3 separate regions of the Homo sapiens genome follow, and all the other regions are linked to region 1. The links are contacts of gene promoters, found by promoter capture Hi-C in blood cells and fetal thymus (Javierre and others, 2016). All regions are on one chromosome and are shown on one strand. The core of a region is centred on a gene start or on the middle of the fragment in contact, and the rest is flanking DNA. Distances in the headings are between cores, read along the strand shown.

Evidence for each region. The method cuts DNA at HindIII sites, captures the fragments that hold promoters and counts their contacts. A CHiCAGO score of 5 or more calls a contact.
Region 2: a contact is called between a fragment that was not itself captured here and the fragment with the promoter of PDXK in region 1, in 1 of 17 cell types (M1 macrophages). The highest score is 5.2, in M1 macrophages.
Region 3: a contact is called between the fragment with the promoter of CRYAA here and the fragment with the promoter of PDXK in region 1, in 5 of 17 cell types (naive CD4 T cells, total CD8 T cells, M1 macrophages and 2 more). The highest score is 6.3, in naive CD4 T cells.

The regions. Positions count from the first base shown.
Region 1 is chr21:43,717,852-43,720,394 of GRCh38, reverse strand. It overlaps PDXK (pyridoxal kinase), which reads right to left and starts at 1,266. Exons shown (of 11, transcript NM_003681.5): 1 at 1,014-1,266. The coding sequence starts at 1,100. LOC124905032 (a long non-coding RNA gene) reads left to right here and starts at 1,847. Exons shown (of 2, transcript XR_007067896.1): 1 at 1,847-2,180. RefSeq lists silencers at 278-467, 625-934, 975-1,764 and enhancers at 1-573, 1,915-1,964. The HindIII fragment of the contact is 18,691 bases long and covers 1-2,543 here.
Region 2 is chr21:43,126,975-43,129,517 of GRCh38, reverse strand. The region is part of intron 3 of LOC101928369 (a long non-coding RNA gene); the gene reads right to left. Among named protein-coding and RNA genes, the nearest start is that of FRGCA, 13 kb to the left of the region's middle. The HindIII fragment of the contact is 1,089 bases long and covers 721-1,809 here.
Region 3 is chr21:43,167,738-43,170,280 of GRCh38, reverse strand. CRYAA (crystallin alpha A) reads right to left here and starts at 1,273. Exons shown (of 3, transcript NM_000394.4): 1 at 993-1,273. The coding sequence starts at 1,181. The region is part of intron 1 of LOC107987300 (a long non-coding RNA gene); the gene reads left to right. The HindIII fragment of the contact is 23,635 bases long and covers 1-2,543 here.

The DNA of each region.
Region 1 (2,543 bases), core at 17-2,516:
CCCAGGCCAGCCCGCACCGCAGGCCCCGCCGTGCCCAGGTGGCCCTTCTTTACATCCCGTGGGGCCCAGCACAGGGACCAGGCATACCTGCTCCCGTCCCCAGTGACCAGGCCGCAGGTGGGCAGCACAGGAGAGCACGACCCGGCAGGGCACCCCCAGCCCTCCTGCTGACTCGACAAGGCCAGGAAGTGCCCGTCGTCCTGGTTCTGCCTCGGCCCTGCGTGACACCCACGCCACTGCACCCAGGCCTCTCCTACCCCTCCACGGGCCACTTAGCTGCAACCAGGAGGCCGTGGGCCAACGCGTTTTAAAAGCTGGCTCCCTAAAGCCAATCCGCACAGTCCCGAACTGCTCTCTGGGGCTTCTCCTCGTCAGAGCAAACACCTGCAGGGATGCCGCTCTGCTAGAGGGTGCAGAGCAGCCCCTGCCCCACCCTCTTCCCTTCGGCCACCTCCTGGCGTGGTCAGGCCGAGGGGAATCCACCCTCGTGGGCACCGTGACCTCACTCGGCGTCTTCTTCCTGACTTCCCCACGCACAGGGGCCCAGGAGGTGAGCGCGCGAGCGTCTCGAGCTCCACGGCCGCTTCTGCGTTCCAGCGGGGCAAGGTCCCGGCTCGCGTGACTGCTCCGGGACTCCTCGGGGCTCTGCGACATTTCCTCGCCTCCGGGAGCCGCACCGCCCGCCCGCCCCCGCGGCAGTTGGCCCGGTCGGCGGGAAGGGGCGAGGACGAGCGGCTGCGCCATAGCTGGTGCACAGGGCTCCCTCCTACCCGCGTACCCCGACGCCGGACCCGTCCCACCCGCAGGGGCCCGCAGAGCGCTCAGCCCTCCGCTTCCGCCCCCGCAAGCCAAGCAGAGCGGGAGGCTCATCCCGCGCCTGCCTCCAGGGCGCCCGCGCCAGGCTCTGCCCGCAGCTCCCGAGCCTCCCTCGGGGAACTGAGGCTCGTCTCGGGCAGCCCCGCCAAGGTCACGGGCTCGGGTTACGTAAGCCCGGGCTGCGGGCGGATGCGTACCTGCAGCGGGAACGTGGCCGCCCGGTTGCCCACGTAGCCGCGGATGACGTGGCTCTGTATGGAGAGCACCCGGCACTCCTCCTCCATGCCGGGCCTGGCCGCGGCGGCGCGGGGCCGAGGCGGGGGCACGGTCTCCGCCGCTCGCTCGGGCTCCGGCTCGGCTCGGGCTCGGGCTCCGGCCCCGGCTCCCCTCGGCTGCGACTCTGGCTCTGGCGCGCGGCGGACCCGATCAGCGCAGACGCCTCCTTCTGACCTCAGCGGGCGGCTCCGAACCCGCGAGTTCCGCGCGGCGCCGGGGGCTGGCCGGGGGCGGACCGGGGCGGGGACAGCCACGCAGGCCCCGCCCCCGGGCTGGGAGGAAGCGAAACCGGACCCTGGCCGCGCGGCCGCGCCAGGTGGCCCCCGCCACTCTGCCGCCCGAAACGCTGGGTTTGCACTTTCATTCCGCCTGGAGAGGGCTCTGCAGCGCCGTTCATTCGTTCGTTCATTCATTCATTCAACCATTGTGCTCCGCCTCAGCCCTGCGCCCCGCGCCCCGCGCCCCGCGCCCCGCCGCACGCAGGGGAGACTCGGGGGCCCGGGCTCCACGCCCCTGACCTCCGGGCGCGACACTCTCGCAACGCGGATGGCCACGAGAGTGCGCGCGGGCGTGGGAATAGTGCGGAGGCGCGAAAGTGACCCCGGACCCCGGATACCCAAGGGAACCGCGCTCTCAACTGCCTGCAGGGCCCGGAGCCCGCATCCGATCCGCGTCCCTTCCCAGGGGCCGCGCGGGAGCTGACAGACACGGGGCCGGGGGGACCCAGTCAACTCCGCACCGGCCTGGGGCGGCGGGCTTCTCTGGGGGCGCCCCAGACCCTTGCGGACCCTGAGTGCCCACTCTGGTGGCGCGGCCTGCAGAGGCCCCCAGCCGATGGCCACATGCCCGGCCGTCCATCCACAGGTGCCTGGGTCTGGGCCGCGTGTCCGATCCCACCCCAACCAGGTCTTCCTGTGGAGGGCCTGCCTTCGAGGACGAACCTGACCCCCTGGGGGACCCCACAGCCTTCACTTCCCACCCCTACGCTCTCCACAGCTGACGCACTCCCTGCGGCTTCCCTGCACCACCCCGGGGAACGGAGGCCTTTGGGTTCCAGACTTGCAGACATGGTGATTTGGGGCCCTGGGGTCAGTATCACCAGACTAAAGTCTTGGTGACCTAACACAGCGCACCTAGGGCTCTGTAGCTTGGTGAGACCCAATGCCCGACCAGGCGGGTGCTGAGGACTGAGGGAGGAAGACATTACTTAGAGATCTAGGCTTTTAAAAGAAAGTACTTCATAATTAGTCATAATTGTCCATTAATAATAGCTAACATTGGCCGGGCGCGGTGGCTCACGCCTATAATCCCAGCACTTTGGGAGGCTGAGTTGAGCGGATCAAGAGGTCAGGAGTTCAAGACCAGTCTGGCCAACATAATGAAACCCCATCTCTACTAAAAATACAAAAATTTAGCTGGGTGTGGTGGTGTGCACCTGTAATCCCAGCTAC
Region 2 (2,543 bases), core at 16-2,515, 590 kb after region 1:
CACCCCACTGACCCTGTGTTTTCCATATTTCAATGGCTCTTGGTAATCACAATTATTATAAATTTTCAACTGTTTGTCTTTTTTTTAATAGAGAGGGGATCTTGCTATGTTGGCCAGGTTGGTCTTGAACTCTTGACCTCAAGCAATCCTCCCACCTCAGCCTCCCAAAGTGCTAGGATTATAAGCATGAGCCACCACGCACAGCCCAACTGCTTGTCTTTTGATGGCTTCCCAACATCACTGATGCTTTCTGCACTATTGACAAAGAGAGTGTTTCCATGTGTCCTTCCCACAGTGAGCACTGGGTACATGCTACCCTTTTTGTATGAATTCACAGTGCAATTAAACCCATGGTCACAAAAAGACAAATGCATTTTAAAAATTAAAACATATACATTGTCAGCAACCAGCAGAGGTGCCTGTAACAGAGGGAGTGTTGGGATGCTGCCAACACCTTGGGTCAGGTCAGCTTTTGCAAATTTTGGCACCAAGTTTACAGAAAAAAAAAAAAAGTCCTTTTCATTTTCACAGCTTTTTGCTTTTTGGAATGCTGACAAGGGCCTGTGGGTCTGTTCCATCATGGAATCAGGATGAAAAGACAGAATTGGAGTCCTCAAAGCAACCCCAGTCTAGTAGGACAGAGATGTCAACACCGCATTAGAGCATCATTCAACAAGGGCAGTTTCTGATGCCTCATGGGCACCTACTAAGTGCCAAGCTTCGTCCACTCCTCAAAGGCAGGTTGGCTGATCCTATTAGCCAATGGAAACCCTGAGTCTAGAGAACTTCATAATGCAGGTCATGCAGCAGGAAGTGGCAAAGCAGGATAGCAGATCCAGGTCTGTTCAACCTTTGCAGGTAAGGAGGGGAAGCTGTTGAGAACCCAAAATGCATTGCACATCTGGGAGGGGGATGACTCCAAGGAGGCCTCAAGGGCCAAACTGGAATGCTGGGAAGGAGGGAGTGGGCATGGGTCCTGGAAGAACACACTGTGCACAGGCAGGAGGCTCCCACGACCAAGAGCTGAAAGTTGCCCGGCACATTCCAGGGACTGGGAGCCATGGAGGGTTCCCAGTAAGAAACAGCAGGATCGAATCTGTATTTCCCACAGAGCCCTCTGGCAGAAGGACAAATGGTCACCTAGAAAAGGAGGAAACAGCATAGATACTGCTGTAGTGATCCAGGTACACTCAGGAATGGCCAAGAGGAGGAAAAGGAGCAGACATGGTTGAGAGAAGCCAAGGAATTAGAATGGATGTGAATCAGACAACTTAGGGCAACCCAGGTGGGCTCAGGCTATAGATGACTGGCATTTACTAAATGCTTGAACAGAACGTCAAGAGATGGGAGGAGAAGGATAAAATGAAGTCAGCTGGAGATATGTTGAGCTGAGGTGCCTGGCACACTTCTAAGTGGAGATCTGTCTTCCGAATTTGTGTCTGTGCACCTGCCACAGTATCTGACACATCAGACATGCCCCCCAAAATATAAGATGGATGGACGGACAGATGGATGGATGGATAGATGGATGAATGACTCAGTGGGATGGATAGATGGATGGATGAATGGATGAATAAATGGGTGGGTGAAAGGACAGATGGATGGATGGATGGATGTCTGGGTGAGTGGATGGATGGATGGATGGATGGACGGACTAACAGACAAATGGGTGGATGGCTAGATGAGCGGATTGGTGGGTGAAAGGACAGACATATGAATGAACAGATGAAGGGAGGAATGAATTCTCGACTTTAAATAATGAGATTTAGAAAATATGATTAAGTACAAAGTTTATTCAAGCCCAAAGCTTAAGGATGGCCACCTGGGAGCCTAGATTCAAGTTCCCCTGAATAGATGCTCCAATTAGCAGCAGTGGGTTCTTTTTTTTTTTTTTTTTTTGAGACAGGGTCTCACTCTGTCACCCAGTCTGGAGTGCAGTGGTGTGATCACAGCTTACTGCAGCCTCAACCTCCCAGATTCAAGCAATCCTCTCTCCTCAGCCTGCCTCAGTAGCTGGGACCACAGGCACATGCCCTTATGCTTGGATAATTTTTTAAAATTTTTTATAAAGACAGGCTCTCACTATGTTGTCTCAAACAAAAACAAAACAAAAAGCCCCACTCTCCTGTCTCTCTGGGCCTGATAACTTTGGCACACCTCACATAGCTCAGACTGCTCTGTGCTATTTTTTTCCCCATTTCTCCCCTTTTCATCAAGACCTTTCAAAGAAGGCCTCATAGAAAAATGCAAATTGTTTTGGCTCCCTTTATGTTCAGGAGCTTAGTCCTGAGTTGCTAGGAAGGTTAATTATCAGATGGCCTTGTCCCATGTAGGGGAGGGGAGATGTATTAAGCCATTCTTGCATTGCTATAGAGAAATAACCAGCTGGCTGCACTGGCTCGCGCCTGTAATCACAACACTTTGGGAGGCCGAGGTGGGCAGATGGCTTGAGCCCAGGAGTTTGAGACCAGCCTGGGCAGCATGACAAAACCTCACCTTTACTAAAAATTCAAAAAAAATTAGCCAGGCATGGTGGTACATGC
Region 3 (2,543 bases), core at 24-2,523, 550 kb after region 1:
ACTGGTGGGCCGGCTGGTTGTTTGGCTATGGTCAGGTGGCTGGTTATAGATAAGTTGGCTGGTTATGGGCTGGCTGGCTACTGGTTATGGTAGGAGGGGTCGTTACGGGTTGGTTGGTCCGTTAGGGTCAATCGTCTGGCTGGTGATGCTTGGCTGGCTGGCTGGACTCAGCCTGTGGAATGAGGTCACTGCCCTTGGTGTCATGCTGTCTATAGAAGCGGCCGGAGCCTGCTGACAGCCTGCGCAGCTGCCTCTCCAAAACGCACTTCCACATGCTCCTTCTCACTCCCCTGGCTCAGCCTTGGCTCCCTGAGGCATTTTGCACCCTGGCGTTGATGCCTACTGCAGCAGCCCTGGGGAGGACCCTGTTTATGAGGTGCTGGGTGGGACTCAGGCCCTCCAGAACAGCAGAACCTGCACCGCTCACCCGTGGCTCAGAGAGGAGGCCTGTGGTTGGGTGGGGGGGGGGGCGTCCATTGCCTGTCCTTTTAGCCTTGGCAGGGCACCTAAGTAAACTTGCCAAGAGCTTTGCTAGCCGTGGGCAGGCCGAGCTCATTGGAGGAGGTGCTAGGAACGCCCTGCTCTCTGGCTTTCAGGACTATGACCCCCACCTGCTCCCAGGTCTCCGGGACTCAGGAGACCAGAGGAACCCGGGAGCTGGCATTCGCCACCACGCATGCCTGGATGGGCTGCTCTTGGGGTTTCCAGTATGTGGCTGGTGCCTTACAAAGCACACATGGGTCATGAGCTGATGGAGGAAAGCAAAGGTGGATTCAGGCTGCTCCCTTGTCCACCCTCTCCCCAGTGCCAGGGGAAGCTCTGCCACGTGGCTGCAGTGGGGACACAGGCTCTCGCCCAGCCTCTGCAAGGGGATGAAGTGGGACGAGGCCACCTGCCTGACGGAGCAAGACCAGAGTCCATCGCTCTCCACCCACCGAGGCCACCACCCTCTGAGCAGCGAGGAGAGGCCAGCACCACGGGCCACGTCTTACCTCAGAGATGCCGGAGTCCAGCACGGTGCGGAAGAGGGACTGGCGGTAGTAGGGGCTGATGGTGGACGACAGGAAGGGCAGCAGGTCATACTCAAAAAGGCCCTCGCCGAAAAACTGGTCGAACAGCCGGCTGGGGTAGAAGGGCCCCAGGGTGCGCTTGAACCAGGGGTGCTGGATGGTCACGTCCATGTTCAGCTTTGGTACCACGGGGACCTGGAGGCTGGCAGGAGTCAGCGGGGCCTCTGGGCAGCGCAGTGTGGAGCCAAGGCCGAGCCCTCCCTATATATGCCACCAGCAGAATGGAGGCATTAAGGGATTTCTCTGGAAAGGCGTGAGCTCATGAAGAAGGCTGCTCAGTCAGCAGAAACGTGGCTGGGACAAGTGCCCGCCCCCAGCCCCAGGAGGGGCTGCACGGACTGTCCCCGAGGCCTGGACTCAGCTGAGGCCCGCCTGGGCACCCTGGGGCTCCCGGGAGGGCAGACAACCCAAGGAGGCGCCTGTGCCCCATACTCGCCTGGGGCGACAATGGAGCTTCTCATCTGCCAGTCACTGGGCAGGGGCTACGTGCCAGGGACCATGCTAGTTCTCTGCACACCTTGTCCTGCCGGGGTGGTCCTCATGGTCGCCAGAGGAGGGAGAGCACACACCCCCGTTAGACACAGAGGTTAGACACATCGTCCTCAGAGTCTCACCGGGCCTGGGCAAGAGTGCACTGGTTTCCAAAGCGGAGTGCATCTGTGAACCTCCGTTACACTCACCACTTACAAAAGTACGCATGCTTGTTAAAACTCGTGGAGAAGAAGCTGCAAGGTGCCATAATTCCAGCACCTGGGGGAGCCCTATGGCGTTTCATGCTTGTCCTCCAGGGGTCACATGCCTCCAACAGGAAGACGGGCTGGGCTGTGGGCAGATGAGAGCACCACGTGGTGAGCTTCCCTCTGCGGCCCACCCTGGACGCCCAGCCCCATGGCCATCGTCCCCTCGATGTAACGCCTCGAGCGTTACATCTCGTAATGATGTAATGCCTTGATGTAACATCCCCACGTAACGCCTCGAGCCTCCGTGGCATGACCTGCCGTGGCTGTTGAGTTGGGCTGCTCCTGTCAGGGTGGCGACATGTCCCCACGTCCCTGTCACCCATGCGGACCCACCACCCACATGATCCTGTTATCCACAAGTCCTGGTGATTATTTTGCTCCTCGACCCATGGCCCCTGTCCAGTTCTCACTAAGTGTCCAGGCACTCCCGGTTTTGTTTGTTTGTTTTTGAGATGGAGTCTTGCTGTGTCACCCAGAGTGGCGCCCAGATCATATAGTGGCGCGATCTCAGCTCACTGCAACCTCTGCCTCCCAGGTTCAAACAATTCTCCCACCTCAGCCTCCTGAGTAGCTGAGACTGCAGGTGCCTGCCACCACACCTGGCTAATTATTATTATTATTATTATTATTATTATTTTTGTATTTTTAGTAGAGACAGGGTTTCACCGTGTTGGCCAGGCTGGTCTCAAACTCTTGACCTCAGGTGACCCACCTGCCTTGGCCTCTCAAAGTG